Linked DNA regions of Homo sapiens: all the other regions are linked to region 2. Evidence: promoter capture Hi-C in 16 types of primary human blood cells and fetal thymus (Javierre and others, 2016). All regions are on one chromosome and are shown on one strand. The core of a region is centred on a gene start or on the middle of the fragment in contact, and the rest is flanking DNA. Distances in the headings are between cores, read along the strand shown. Region 1 overlaps FAM163A (family with sequence similarity 163 member A). Region 2 holds the start of TOR3A (torsin family 3 member A). Region 3 overlaps RASAL2 (RAS protein activator like 2). Region 4 overlaps LINC02818 (long intergenic non-protein coding RNA 2818). Region 5 overlaps LOC105371631 (a long non-coding RNA gene).

Region 1 (2,737 bases), core at 180-2,679, 720 kb after region 2:
TTTATGCTCAAAAAGCAACTTTAATTTTTTTTCTTCAAATGTCCCTTTACTTTAAAATGTATTCAGTGGGAGAAATCTTCCCCTGCCCCTAGAAAAAAAACTTGGCCCAATCCCATTGCTTTTTCATCCAGTCTTCGGTGATAGCCTTATAGTTACTGTAAGTTATAGATACAGTCCACTCAGACATTAGAATGCATCATAGGCCGGGCATGCTGGCTCACGCCTGTAATCCTAGTACTTTGGGAGGCTGAGGCAGGTGGGTCACCTGAGGTCAGGAGTTTGAGACCAGCCTGGACAACATGGTGAAACCCCATTTCTACTAAAAATACAAAAATTAGCCGGGGGTGGTGGCGGGCGCCTATAATCTGAGCTACTTGAGAGGCTGAGGCATCCTGCCTTAAAGCCAGCATTAATCGCTTTAACCTGGTGGGGCGGAGGTTGCAGTGAGCCGAGATTGTGCCACTTCACTCCAGCCTGCGCAACAGAGCAAAACTCCCAAAACTCCGTCTCAAAAAAAAAAAAAGGAATGCATAATAATCATGAGTAATGAAACGCTCTTACTCTGACCGCATTGTTTTTCTCCTTTCTTCCAGTTTCTCTCTGCTCAAGCTGGAAGCACCTGAGGTGGGCCCCCACACGTCCCTCTGCTGTCTACACCGCCCTGTTCTCTCTTCCCTACCACCCGCCCAGGAGCTGCTGTTTTACCACTGGCCGGGATCGAAATTCGGGGTTCTTACTGGTTAGAGAGCTTAGAGAAACTTAAAACTGGCTCCTGCTTTTGGAAATGTTTTTGTGGGCTCTCCTGGGGTTCCCTGCTGGGCTGGACCCCTCTCTTCCGAAGTTCCCTTCACCCACTCAAGCACTGCATCTCTCTTCCAGGAGTCTTTTGCAACCCCTTGCTCAGCCTCTGGGCATCTGGAGGCCGCCTGCAGCCTCTTCAGTTCAGGTCTTCTCCCTGTTGACACTTACACAATATTGACTCAAGACAGCCAGCCCCAGAGCTCTCCTCCCTTGGGATACATAGCTCAGCAACACCTCTCACCATGGAAATCTCCTCAGCAAACCTTCACCAAGTTATGGTCCTATATGTATTTTATAAAGTGGGTGAAAGCATCCACGGATCCTGAGACAGATGCTTTTACATTCCCATTGTACAGTCTGTGCACAGCCAGGGGCAGAGGGCCCTGCCCCAGGCTCACTTTCACCTTCTGATTTCTATCCTTTGCCCTGTCAGAACTCGTGCAGCAAGAGCCCCACTGTGATACCCAGTCGCATTAAACTCTACATCACAGGTTAATGTGAATGAGAACATCTTGGAGAAAAGAAAGCCTAAGTGCCCAGAATGTCCAAGGCAGGAGCTGGGAGAGTGTAGGAAGGCCTAGATCTAGGAGAGAGGTGATACGGGGACAGGGCTGTTCTGTCACGCAGTCACTCTGCCTCCTTCTCAGCTTTCCCCAGGGCTCTGCCCCTGAGAGCTGCTGGGCTCAGACAGCCCCAGTCCGTGAGGCATCATGCTAATGTCTGTCCTTTGACCTCCAGTTTCTGGCCGAGGGTGAGAACCTGGAGGTGGTTAGCCCTGTCCCCTTGGGAAGGTGGCTCTGTGGATGTGGTTAATGGCTGGGTTTCCTCCCCAATACAAACATCCCCCACCCAGGGGGGGCCTTTCCTCTGAGCCAGGGCTGAGCATCACCCCTACAGGGCATCCCTCCTCTCCCTCCTTCTCTCAGTGTAGGGTCCAGACTCTTCCGAATAATGTTGAGTGGTTATTTAAAGATCAACACTGTCCTGGCCGGGCATAGTGGTTCAAGCCTGTAATCCCAGCACTTTGGGAGGCCAAGGCAGGAGGGTCACTTAGGGTCAAGAGTTTGAGACCAGCCTGGCCAATGTGGTGAAACTCTATCTCTACTAAAAACACAAAATAGCTGGGCACGGTGGCATGTGCCTGTAGTACCAGCTACTTGGGAGGCTGAGGCGGGAGAATAGCTTGAACCCGGGAGGCCGAGGTTGCAGTGGCACTCCACCCTGAGTGACAGAGCAAGACTGTGTCTCAGAAAAAAAAAAAAAGAAAGGTCAACACTGTCCTGGGTTAGACTGATTGGTTAAATGAATAAACAAATGAAACAATGTAAAGAGACCCCCAAAAATTAGCCTACCCTGGATTCCTGGATGTCTCGGGAGGGCCCTGCCTCCCCCTCCACCATCAGCGCAGCAGCCTGAACTTGCTCATCTGGCTGTCCAGTCACCATCTTTGGCCTGATAGAAGTCAGGATATTGGAGTAGGGGAAGGAAGTGTGCAGCCCGGGCACTGGGAAAAATAGGCCCGGGAAACCGTGGGAAAGGGGCTGGGAAAGAGGTATGTTAAGAGCAGGGTCAGTCATGCAGGCAACAAGGACACATCCACTGAGCACAGATCCAGATCCTCCAGTGGAGCAGGAGAAAGCCAGCCGAGCGCCCTGCCCCACTCGCCGTCACCTCCCAGACATGTGCCCAGCATCCTGCCGCTGCCCTGGGCACAGGCTTCCAGCAGCAGCACAGAGGGAAGGAGACAAAGCTGGGATAGGTGTAACCTTACAGGTCTGTCCTCAGGTTCTTAGGCTGGGGCCTCGGAAACCAAGGCAGCTGTGGAGGTTTACCTCAAGAAGCAAACCCCTGGAGAGACTTCCACTCTAGAAGCTGGGGTCACAACTGGGGGCCAGCAGGAGCCTGTCTGTCCTCAGCCTCCCTGTCCAGCTCTCAT
Region 2 (2,700 bases), core at 62-2,561:
CTGTCTCCGGTGGACTCCGCAAGCTCGATGTACACAGTGCTGGGCTGGTGCCATGGCTGCTACTCTATGAAAAGTTTTTGACATCACACTGAATGGCTGAGACACTATAAACATTTTACTTTTCAACTCAACCTCGTGTCCTAGCAAAGGTGCTTTATCTAGTTTCTGTAGCTGTTCGAATGAAAGGCACAAATTTGGTGAGCTGCTGAGAATGGAGCAGACCTGGCACGGTGTGATCTAAGAGACTGGGGTGAACAGATGAATCAAGTTGCCTGTGACATTTGTGAGACACGGTGCTAGTATTCACCTTACTGTCTGGAGGGCCCAACCTCAAAGCCACTAAACATATGACATTAGCCAAGTCCTCTGATCTCTCTAGACAGCAGTTTTCTCCTAAGACAAGACGGCTTTTTGGCTTGGCTGAAGTAAGCCAGGTGATTTTAAACAATGCATTAAGCTCTTCTGAAATCTAACAGCCTTGTTCCATGCTCCTCGCTATGGAGAAGAGAGCGCTGAGGGAAAGAGGCCCTGTAGTCTTTTGCCAATGGTGTCGGATGGGCTGCTCAGTCCCAGCACTTGAAAGTTGCAAACCTAGTCAAGAAAGTGCACACAGTACTTCGGATTTTTATGAGATATAATTACATTGACATGACGCCTCATGATTTACCCATGACTCGGGGGGTTTCCAAACTCCAAACACCTCCAGACTGGAGCCCGTCAATCAGCTTCCTCTTGCTTTTCGTGGACTCCCACTGTGGAAACCTGCTGGTGTTTTGCTGCGGTTTCATTTCCCTCTGCGGAGGAGCCAGGGCAACCTTGGCCAGACAGGCACCTAGCTGTGCCCTTCTTTCCAGGGCCTCTTCTCCACTCAGCTGACTCCCCTGGCCTGCCTAACGCTCCTGACTGAGACGGTTTTCCGGCTTCCTCTAACAGGTTGGCGGGAAGTTGATCTGCAAACGCGAGGCAAAGCAGGAGTGTCCTTATTCGGTAGGCCTCTGATGGGCCACCAGAGCCGTCCGAAAGTCCTAGCGGAGTGATTGACAGTGGCCATTTCAAAGCCTGAGTTCACCTTCTTTGCAACCACAATCACGACCCAGAATAAACTGCTTCCTGGAAGCCGGCTAGTTGCACCTGGCCTGAAGTCAGTCTCGGGACTGCCTCTCAGGACCCCAGACAGGGTTTCGGGTTCCCGCCTGGGTCACGTGTACGGAGGCTGCCAGTGCGCACTCAGCCCGGCCCGCCGGTCGCCACAGCAACACCAATCCCGGGTTCAAGCCCGCCTAGGAAGTGCGGTCCCCGCCTGACCGCCCCGGGCTTAAGGGAGCCTGGCTAGGCCGGCAGCCGGATGGTCCCGCAGCTCGGGGCCGGCCATGCTTCGCGGTCCGTGGCGCCAGCTTTGGCTCTTTTTCCTGCTGCTGCTCCCGGGCGCGCCTGAGCCCCGCGGCGCCTCCAGGCCGTGGGAGGGAACCGACGAGCCGGGCTCGGCCTGGGCCTGGCCGGGCTTCCAGCGCCTGCAGGAGCAGCTCAGGGCGGCGGGTGCCCTCTCCAAGCGGTACTGGACGCTCTTCAGCTGCCAGGTGTGGCCCGACGACTGTGACGAGGACGAGGAGGCAGCCACGGGGCCCCTGGGTAAGACCCCGTCCCCACGGTCCGCCGTTCGCTGCGGAGCAGAGTGCGATCCGGGCGCGGCTGTGGTCGCCTCGCTCCTGTCCGGGGCGACATCTGGGCCCGCAGTCCTGCTCTGCTCAGCCGCCGGTACCGGCTGTGGGCGGGGGCAGCCTCCGCGGAGCAGGGAGCCCCATCACCGCCCTTGCCCCACCCGCGTCCCCTGCGCACCCCCCTGGCGCCCGGCTTCCCGTCCCCCGCCTCCCCTGATCCCTGCGCTTTCCAGATTCTCTCGCACCGCCTGTGCCATCTCCCAGCCCACCCTGGCGTTATTCGAAGGTGTTGCTCTTGACAGCTCTAGGGAACGTCCGCTGTGGACATGCCTGGTGACTGCCGTCTCCCTTGCTGCTTTTGGACGCAGGGCTTGAGGACCGACAGTGGGCCGAGTCGGGGCTGGGAGTTAGAATCTGAGTTCTGGGTGTCCCTCTGTCCCTGACAAGTTGTGTGGCAAGGTTGCCGCATCACTGTAGAGCACCGGATGGTCTCCTCTCGGTCTCACAGCTCCTCCTTTTCCAGGCTGGCGCCTTCCTCTGTTGGGCCAGCGGTACCTGGACCTCCTGACCACGTGGTACTGCAGCTTCAAAGACTGCTGCCCTAGAGGGGATTGCAGAATCTCCAACAACTTTACAGGTTGGACCCCGCATGGCTTCAAGGGGCTAGGGATCTGTGGGGAGGGGAGGCAGTCCAGGGGAAATGGTTAGATGCAAGGGACCTTTCGTCATCCTGCCCAGCCTCCCGACAAGCAGGAACTGCCACAGTCTGACTGAAGTTTTGAGGGAGTACCAAATGCTTGAGTCAGGGAAGCCCCTTTTTAGCCTCTAGCTTAATAGCCCAGGCAAACTGAGCTGTTTGTCAGGCCCAGAGCACCTTGTTTCACTCTAAACAGAAACAGCTACCTCTCAGAGGGGGCTGGAACTATCCAGAGAGAACTGATCAGAAATTCTGGGTTGTGATTAAAAGTGTCCCTTTCTTTTCTTTTTTTTTTTTGAGACGGAGGCTTGCTCTGTCACCCACACTGGAGTGCAGTGGTGCGAT
Region 3 (2,700 bases), core at 115-2,614, 780 kb before region 2:
CCCAGCACTTTGGGAGGCCAAGGTGGGAAGATCACGAGGTCAGGAGTTCAAGACCAGCCTGGTCAATATGGTGAAACCCTGTCTCGAGTGTGGTGGCATGTGCCTGTAGTCCCAGTTACTCAGGAGGCTGAGGCAGGAGAATCGCTTGAACCCAGGAGGTGGAGGTTGCAGTGAGCCAAGATTGAGCCACTGCACTCCAGCCTGGGAGACAGAGCGACACTCCATCTCAAAAAAAAACAAAGTATAATAGTGTGTTGGTGGAAGAATAAACAAATAGAATAGTGAAATAGAATAGAGAGTCTTGAAGTTATCCCATATATAAGGACATTTGGTGTGACATTTCCCTCACGGCAGTGAGAGAAAAGACAGTCTTTTTAGTCATTGGTGCTGGCTCAATAACATATCTTTTTGGAGTGGGGTGGGAATGAGGAGGAATTGACCTATAAGATAGTGACCTTATAACCATGCACAATATCAATTCCAAGATCTGAACAAGAGAGATAATACAATAAAACTTCTAGAAATAGTGTAGGATATTTTCATGATCTTGGATAAAGAAAGATTTCTTAAGTCAGGAGTGTCCAATCTTTTCGCTTTCCTGGGCCACATCAGAAGAAGAATTGTCTTGGACCACACCCAAAATGCACTAACACTAACGACAGCTGATGAGCTTAAAAAAAAAAAAGGTTCATGCAAAAATCTCATAATGTTTTAAGAAAGTTTAAGAATTTGTGTTGGGCTGCATTCAGAACCATCCTGGGCTGCATGCAGCCCATGGACCGTGGGTTGGACAAGTTTGTCTTAAACAATACAAAAAACACAAATTGTAATGGAAATAATTGATACATTGGACTATATTAAGATTAAGAATTCTGTCAATCAGTACATCATTAAGAGAATGAAAAGGCAAACCACAGAGTAGAATAATATATTTGCAACACCTATAATGAACAAAGGGCTTTTATCTAGTATATATAAATGCTTCCTCGTAGAAAATGAGCAAGAGGCTTGAACAGATATTTTAACGAAGAGTTCACTGAGGAACAGACACAAATTAGTACATCCTGTCTGATTCCGTTTATATCAAGTTCCAAAACCGTTAAAACTAATCTATGGTGTTAGTTATTAGGATGGTGGTTACTTTTGGGGAGGAGGCATGAATAGTGATTGGGAGAAATATAAAGGTGGATTCTGGAGTGCCAGTGGTGTTCTGTTTGTTGACTTGGGTAGGAATTACACAGGTGTGTTCACTTTGTGATAATTCATTGAGCATATGTGTGTTATACTTAAAGAAAATTTTAAAAAGACAAAGAAAAACAAGCTAAATTGTACTGTCACATAAGTGGTCTATACTATTACAAAGTACACAGTAGGGAGGATTAAGAACTATATAGCCAACTCTGTTTTATGCTACCAAAAGGGCCACTAGGATGAGGACTAACGAAAATCATTAGGCCAGGTGTGATGGCTCACACCTATAATCCCAGCACTTTGGGAGGCTGAAGCTGGAGGGTCACTTATGTCTAGGAGTATGAGACCAGCCTAGACAACATAGTGAGACCCTTATCTCTACAAAATAAAAAAATTAGCCAGGCATGGTGGCACACATCTGTAGTCTCAGCTACTCTGAAGGCTAAAGTGGGAGGATCTCTTGAGCCTGGGAGGTTGAGGCTACCGTGAGCTGAGATCACACCACTGCACTCTAGCTTAGGCGACAGAGTGAGACCTTGTCTCAAAAACAAAACAAAACAAAAACCACACATTAGATTAAGTGACATTAGGGTTCTTGGTAAGTTTAGGAACTGTAGTTTTAATGGTATGTGGCAGCAGAAGCCCTACTGAAATGAGTTGAGAAGATAGTGTGATAAGGAAATCAAAACAGCAAATGGAGACAATTCTTCTTAAACGTTTGCCTGTGGAAAAACTGAAAGCGTTTCCTCTTAGATCTGGAACACAACAAGGTTGTGCACTTTTACCACTCTTATTTGTTATAGTACTGGAAGTCCTAGCTAGAGCAGTCAGACAAGAGAAGGAAATAAAGGGCATCCAAATTAGAAAGGAAGAAGCCAACTTATTCTTGTTTGCAGATGATACGATCTTATATTTGGAGAAACCTAAAGACTCCACTAAAAAACTGTTAGGACTGATAAACAAATTCAGTAAAGTTACAGGATACCAAATCAGCATACAAAAATCAGTGGCATTTCTGTATGTTAACAGTGAACAATCTGAAAAAAAGAAATTTAAAAAGTAATCCCATTTACAAGAGCCACAAGTAAAATGAAGTACCTAGGAATTAACCAAAGAAGTGAGTATCGCTACAATGAAAACTATAAAATACTGATGAAAGAAATTGAAGAGGATGGCAACAAATGGAAAGATATTTCATGTTCATGGGTTGGAAGAATCAATATTGTTATAATGTCCATACTGCACAAAGCAGTCGACAAATCCAGTGCAATTCCTATCAAAATACCAATGACATTCTTCACAGAAATAGAAAAAACAATACTAAAATTTATATGGAATCACAAAAGACCCTGAATAGCCAAAGTCATTCTGAGCAAAAGGAACAAAACTAGAGGAATCACATTACCTGAGTTCAAATTACAGTACAGAGGTATAGTAACCAAAATAGCACGGCACAGGCAGAAAAACAGACACACAGACCAGTGGAACAGAGAATCCAGAAACAAATCC
Region 4 (2,700 bases), core at 186-2,685, 750 kb after region 2:
GGCTAGAGGAGACCAAAGTGGAGAGAAGGCAGTGAGACACCTGGGAGGGGGAAGGCGCAGGGCAAAGGAAACAGTGGTGGGGTGGGCGGCTCAGCCTTATGCGGCCTGGCCTGGCCTCCTTCCTCCCAGGCTGTGAGCACACTGAGGTCCTGGGCTGTGCCAGCTGAGGAGATGGATGGCAGAAGCCTCGGGGCAGACCACTCACAGGTCCCCAGGCAGAAGCTGTTCACTGGGGTAGACCCCACAGCCTTCTCTCCAGGCCTTGCTGCACTGGGCCATCTCCTCGTGGTCCCAGGATGTCCCAGCAAGCGGAGCACTGACCACAGGAGTAGGGGTGAGGGAACAAACCAGGCATACACTCCTGGCATCGCCAGACCTTGGCCCTGAACCCCACCCAAACGGATCCATTTAAATGATCCTGAGGTCTAGGAACCCGCTGGGATTCGACAGAAATGTGAGCCCATCAGGTATTCAAAAAGGGTCTGTGCCAGTCCCCCAAATAGTTTAAAAACAACAACACTAGAAATTTTCTCTATCCACCTGGAATGAGTTTTCGGTTACAATTCTGACCCCATGCACCCTCCTCCACCCACCCAAATCCTACCTGTCCTTCAAACCTTGTCCAGGATTCTATGATTTATTCCCCTGAGGCCCCTGGAAGCAATCACTCCCTTTTCTGGATAAGCAAAACATCCTCTCTCCACCTCCCCGCGTGTTGCTGGATTGCTGGTATCTGGCATGCCCTATATTTTCCCTTGCGGACAGGTTGTTCCTTGAGGCTGGATTCCCCACTGCACTGGCCCCAGCACCCAACACAGGCCTTGCACACGCTTTACAGCCAGCCAAAGCCAGCTGAAGGAACCAGATGCACTCCTGTCTTTCATAGGCTGGAGGGTTTTTTTTTTTCTTTTCAATGTCTTTCACTGTGGTAAAATACACATATAAAGCTTATCACCTTCACCATTAAGTGGGCAGCAGTTCAGTGGTATCAAGCACATTCATAATGTGTGACCGTCACCACCATCCACTGCCGTGACTCTTCATCTTGCAAAACTGAAACTCTATACCCATAAAACAAAAGCTCCCCATTCCCTCAACCCCCAGCCCCAGGCAACCACCATTCTAACTTTCTGCCTTTATGATTTTGCCCACTCTAAGTGCCTCACATAAGTGGAATCATACGGTATTTGTCTTTTTGTGAATGGCTTATTTCACTCAGCATAACGTTCTCAAGGCTCATCTCATGTGGCAGGTCGGAATTTCCCTCCTTTTAAGGCTGAATAATATGTCATTGTATGTATGCTATACTTTACTTATCCATTCATCTGTGGATGGATAAATGGGTTGCCTCCACATTTTAGTTACTGTGAATAACACTGCTATGAACATGGGTGTAGAAATACATCATTGAGAGCCAGGCGCAGTGGCTCATGCCTGTAATCTCAGCACTTTGGGAGCCTGAGGTGGGCAGATCACCTGAAGTCAGGAGTTCGAGACCAGCCTGGCCAACATGGTGAAACCCAGTCTCTACCAACAATACAAAAATTAGCCGGGCGTGGTGGTGGGCACCTGTAATCCCAGCTACTTGTGAGGCTGAGGCAGGAGACTCGCTTGAACCCAGGAGGCGGAAATTGCAGTGAGAGGAGATTGCGCCATTGCACTCCAGCCGGGGAGACAAGAGGGAAATCCCATCTCAAAAAAAAAAAAAAAGAAAAGAAATACATTGTTGTTGAGACCATGCTTTCCATTCTTTTGGGAATTCTACTTCTGTCCCTAGAAGTAGAGTTGCTGGATCATGTGGTAATACTATTTGTAATTTTTTGAGGAACCACCATCCCCATCCCGTTTGCCACAGCAGCTGCAACATTTTGCGATCCCACCAACAGTGTCCCAGAGTTCAATTCCTCCACATCCTGTTAGGTTACAAGCTTTAAGAGGATTAAATACTGGGGCTTCATTTACACCCAAGCACATGATGATGGCAGAGGTTTAGTAAGATTGTAGTTTGAACTCCTGGGGAAAATGATTCCACAGTCCATTTGCAACAAACGGGGTAATTTGAGGACTTGGAGCTGGGGCGTCTGCTCGGACCTGTACCTCAGAGCACTCGGAGACCTGCCAGGGCTTTCCTCATCAGCTTCATGATCTGGAGCACGAAGTATTGAACAACCAAAGCCACACTCCTTTGGTAGCATCTGAGTTTTCAGTTTCTTTCTCCCTGCTTCTCTGAGCTTCTTCCCTTTTGGGAATTACACAGCAATCGGGACCAACCTAACAAAACTAGCTGGTCATTTATAGATTCTTCCAGACTGAAACTCCCCAAAGCCAACTTACCCAATATGGTGCCACCACCCTTCTTGCTTCCATGTCCAGCTGTGAAAGGTAGGATTCTAGAGCCACTGGCAGCAGTCTGGAGGTCAGGGCTGGGACTTTTTCAGGTGCAGGTTTTTCAGGAGCTGCTGACTGACCTGGGTATCCAGGTCCAGAGAGGTATCCACAGACACTGCTGTCTCCCAAAGGCAGTGGCATGAAACCAAGAGCACTGCAGCAACGTAAAGCACCCTGAGTGGCCAGGCAGGGCTGCAAGCACATGAGGCCATGGTTCTCTCCTGGAGTGGACACACTGAGGACAGTCAGCCTCTTGGTACATCAGTAGCAACTGTAGCTCTGCCCCTTGCGCAGGAGCATGGGGAACAAACA
Region 5 (2,700 bases), core at 71-2,570, 560 kb before region 2:
TTCTCATGTGTCTTCACATGGTAGATGGGGCAAGAGGTCTCTCTTTTATAAGAGGCACTAATTCCATTCGTGAGGGTGCTGCCATCATGACCCAATCCCCCAACTCTAATACCATCCATCATCCCCTTGGAGGTTAGGTTTCAGCATACAAGTTCTGAGGGACATAAACTTTCAGACCATAGCATCTGCCTCCATTCTCAACATGGATGACCCCTAGGCTTTTCCCTTAATTACCTGACATTTTTCTAGGGACCTACTTCACTTCCTTCTTGGAGTTGGAGGGTAGAAATTGAGTCTGTCTCACTCAACACAGCAGCCCCAGAATTAACACACTGCTCAGTGAATGAGTATGTAGCACTCAGTATCAACCCTCAGGACCAGGAGGTCGAAACCAAATTGACACAGGGCCTCCTGAAAGAGATCAAACTGGCTCTGGAATCTAGAGTTTAGATTAATTTATTAATGGGTAAAAAGACAAATGAGCTGGAACAAAAAAAGTCCGTGTGACTCCAAAACCCAACCCCTGGTCTTGTTCTTCATGTTCAGGAACACTGACTTCACATTTCTTTCTTAACTGAGTGTTCATAATCATAACTTGATTGATGATCAAATGTCTCTCCCACCTCCTTTCTCATCAGTATTCATATGGCAGCTTGTTATTCCTCCCAGGTAAACTGGTTGAGAGGGAATATAAATTTGTTTAAGAGGTACCAATGTCAACTTTGCTCTAAAGCATCATGAACTTGGCCAGCTGCGGTGGCTCATGACTGTAATCCCAGCACTTTGGGAGGCCAAGGTGGGTGGATCACCTGAGGTCAGGAGTTTGAGACCAGCCTGACCAACATAGAGAAACCCCATCTCTACTAAAAATACAAAAATTAGCCTGGCATGGTGGTGGGCCCCTGTAATCCCAGCTACTTCGGAGGCTAAGGCAGGAGAATCACTTAATCCCGGGAGGCAGAGGTTGCAGTGAGCCGAGATTGCACCATCGCACTCCAGCCTGGGGGACAGAGTGAGACTCCATCTCAAAAAAAAAAAAAAAAGAAAGAAAAGAAGCATGAACTTGACCAGTGGCCTCAAATCACGGTCTCTGGCAGGTGACCCCAAGCCTTGGACTCAAGCCCTGACCTGTCACCCAAGCTTGGATCTACCTGTTGTTTCAGGGCCTCATCATCCTGTCAACTTCAACACAGCCAAAACCAAACTTCCCCGTGTCCCCAAACCCTTCTCTGTCTGACTTGCTGATGGGAGTCCTTGTCTTTGCTCAGTTCTCTGACAGCTAGAGCACAGGCTGATCTCCAGCCAAAGGTTGGACCTCATCCCCCCACAGGGCTTTCACCAGCCTGTCTGTTTGCCTGTCCACTTGGTGCCCTGGACTAAACATCCCTGGAGGAAACCTGGAGTGCTGTGGAGCTCAGAGCCCCCTGCCCTGAGCAGCTGGTCCCAGAGCTCCTTTGGTTATTTTGAGGATTTCTGAGAATACAGGTAAAGTACCTGTTACAAAGCTTCCTCTTTCCTCTTCGATGGCTTCCTCCATGACATATCTTTGATGGCTTCTTAGGGCCTTTTCCGAAGAGCTGAGGATGAAAAAAGAGGATGTGAGTCCCTTAAGGGCAGAGACTGTGTAGAATTCATTGATTATGCCCTGCCCCTGCCACTTGATGGCTGCGTGGCTGTGGAGAGCATGCCCTTTTTCTGCCCTTGGTACCACGTTAGTCATTAAAGCTTCACATCTTCTCCATCTCCCATAGCAAATGAGCACCTGGGTCCCATGGCCTTTAACCATTTCAAATGTTTATTCCTGAATTCTCCCCTCTCCCATACACACTCTAATCCAAGCTCTTAGTGTCTGGATCCTGAGCTATGTCCAGTAGCTTCTGACCCAGTCCTCTTGACTCCAGGAGTTTCTTCTCACAGCCTGGAATCCATTGTCCACGCCACTTCCAGAGATTTCCTCCCGAACTACTACTTTACTCTGCAACTCACCGTCTTGCTCAAAAACCATCCCCAGGGCTGATTACTGGTGGGATAACAGACACACTCTTTAACCTGCCGTTCAAGGCCTTGCATTTCCCATATTATTTTTCACCTTTTCTCCCCCGTTCCTATCTGTAAACCCTACACTCTAGGGTCCCAAATGTGCCCTTCACATTCCCATATCCTTGCCTTCACTCCCCTTCTTCTCTGAGCTCCAGGAATCTCCCATCATCCCCGCTGCACTGCCCTCTGCTCTAACAGCTCCTCATTGACCCAAGGAATAGGTCACTCGGCCGTGTAGAGGTGTTTCCCATCTTACTGTTCCAACCTGCATATGTCTTTCCTCTCCATGCAGATTGTCAGTTTCTAGAGGCAGAGCTTATGCTGTCTTCATCTTCATCCTCAGCATGGTGGTCAGAACCCTGCACTTGGCAGGGGCTGAGGAAAAATTTTTTGGTTGAACTTTTGCTGCCTAGCCTGACAGATTCACATGTTGGCCCTTCTGACCCACTCCTGCCCTCTTGGCTCTGTGGCCTTGGGACTGTGGACATCCCCGAGGGTCCTGGGGTGCCAACAGGGGTCTCCTGTCACATGGAGCCCTCCGGGACTGTGCAGGTTTGGGGGCGATCCCAAGAAAATTCTCCATACTATCCAGTGTCCATCCCAGATCATATCTGGAAATATACATACATCACCATGGTGCCAGGCTGGCAGACGGGATGA

The links. The method cuts DNA at HindIII sites, captures the fragments that hold promoters and counts their contacts. A CHiCAGO score of 5 or more calls a contact.
Region 1: a fragment that was not itself captured here is called in contact with the fragment with the promoter of TOR3A in region 2 in 5 of 17 cell types (neutrophils, naive CD8 T cells, naive B cells and 2 more); the score reaches 15.1 in neutrophils.
Region 3: a contact is called between a fragment that was not itself captured here and the fragment with the promoter of TOR3A in region 2, in 1 of 17 cell types (naive B cells). The highest score is 6.3, in naive B cells.
Region 4: a fragment that was not itself captured here is called in contact with the fragment with the promoter of TOR3A in region 2 in 1 of 17 cell types (neutrophils); the score reaches 5.6 in neutrophils.
Region 5: a contact is called between a fragment that was not itself captured here and the fragment with the promoter of TOR3A in region 2, in 3 of 17 cell types (naive B cells, erythroblasts and endothelial precursors). The highest score is 7.0, in naive B cells.

Annotation. Positions count from the first base shown.
Region 1 is chr1:179,805,035-179,807,771 of GRCh38, forward strand. All of the region lies in intron 1 of FAM163A (family with sequence similarity 163 member A), which reads left to right. Among named protein-coding and RNA genes, the nearest start is that of MIR12116, 2.5 kb to the left of the region's middle. The HindIII fragment of the contact is 8,201 bases long and covers 1-2,737 here.
Region 2 is chr1:179,080,759-179,083,458 of GRCh38, forward strand. TOR3A (torsin family 3 member A) reads left to right here and starts at 1,312. Exons shown (of 6, transcript NM_022371.4): 1 at 1,312-1,629; 2 at 2,182-2,295. The coding sequence starts at 1,371. RefSeq lists silencers at 1,287-1,576, 1,717-1,886. The HindIII fragment of the contact is 9,470 bases long and covers 1-2,700 here.
Region 3 is chr1:178,302,789-178,305,488 of GRCh38, forward strand. All of the region lies in intron 3 of RASAL2 (RAS protein activator like 2), which reads left to right. Among named protein-coding and RNA genes, the nearest start is that of CLEC20A, 190 kb to the right of the region's middle. The HindIII fragment of the contact is 8,677 bases long and covers 1-2,700 here.
Region 4 is chr1:179,826,061-179,828,760 of GRCh38, forward strand. LINC02818 (long intergenic non-protein coding RNA 2818) reads right to left here. Exons shown (of 3, transcript XR_001738312.3): 2 at 2,335-2,700. Among named protein-coding and RNA genes, the nearest start is that of LINC02818, 9.2 kb to the right of the region's middle. The HindIII fragment of the contact is 981 bases long and covers 946-1,926 here.
Region 5 is chr1:178,525,725-178,528,424 of GRCh38, forward strand. It overlaps LOC105371631 (a long non-coding RNA gene), which reads right to left. Exons shown (of 5, transcript XR_922310.3): 3 at 2,306-2,415; 4 at 1,495-1,577; 5 at 441-674. Among named protein-coding and RNA genes, the nearest start is that of TEX35, 14 kb to the left of the region's middle. The HindIII fragment of the contact is 365 bases long and covers 1,139-1,503 here.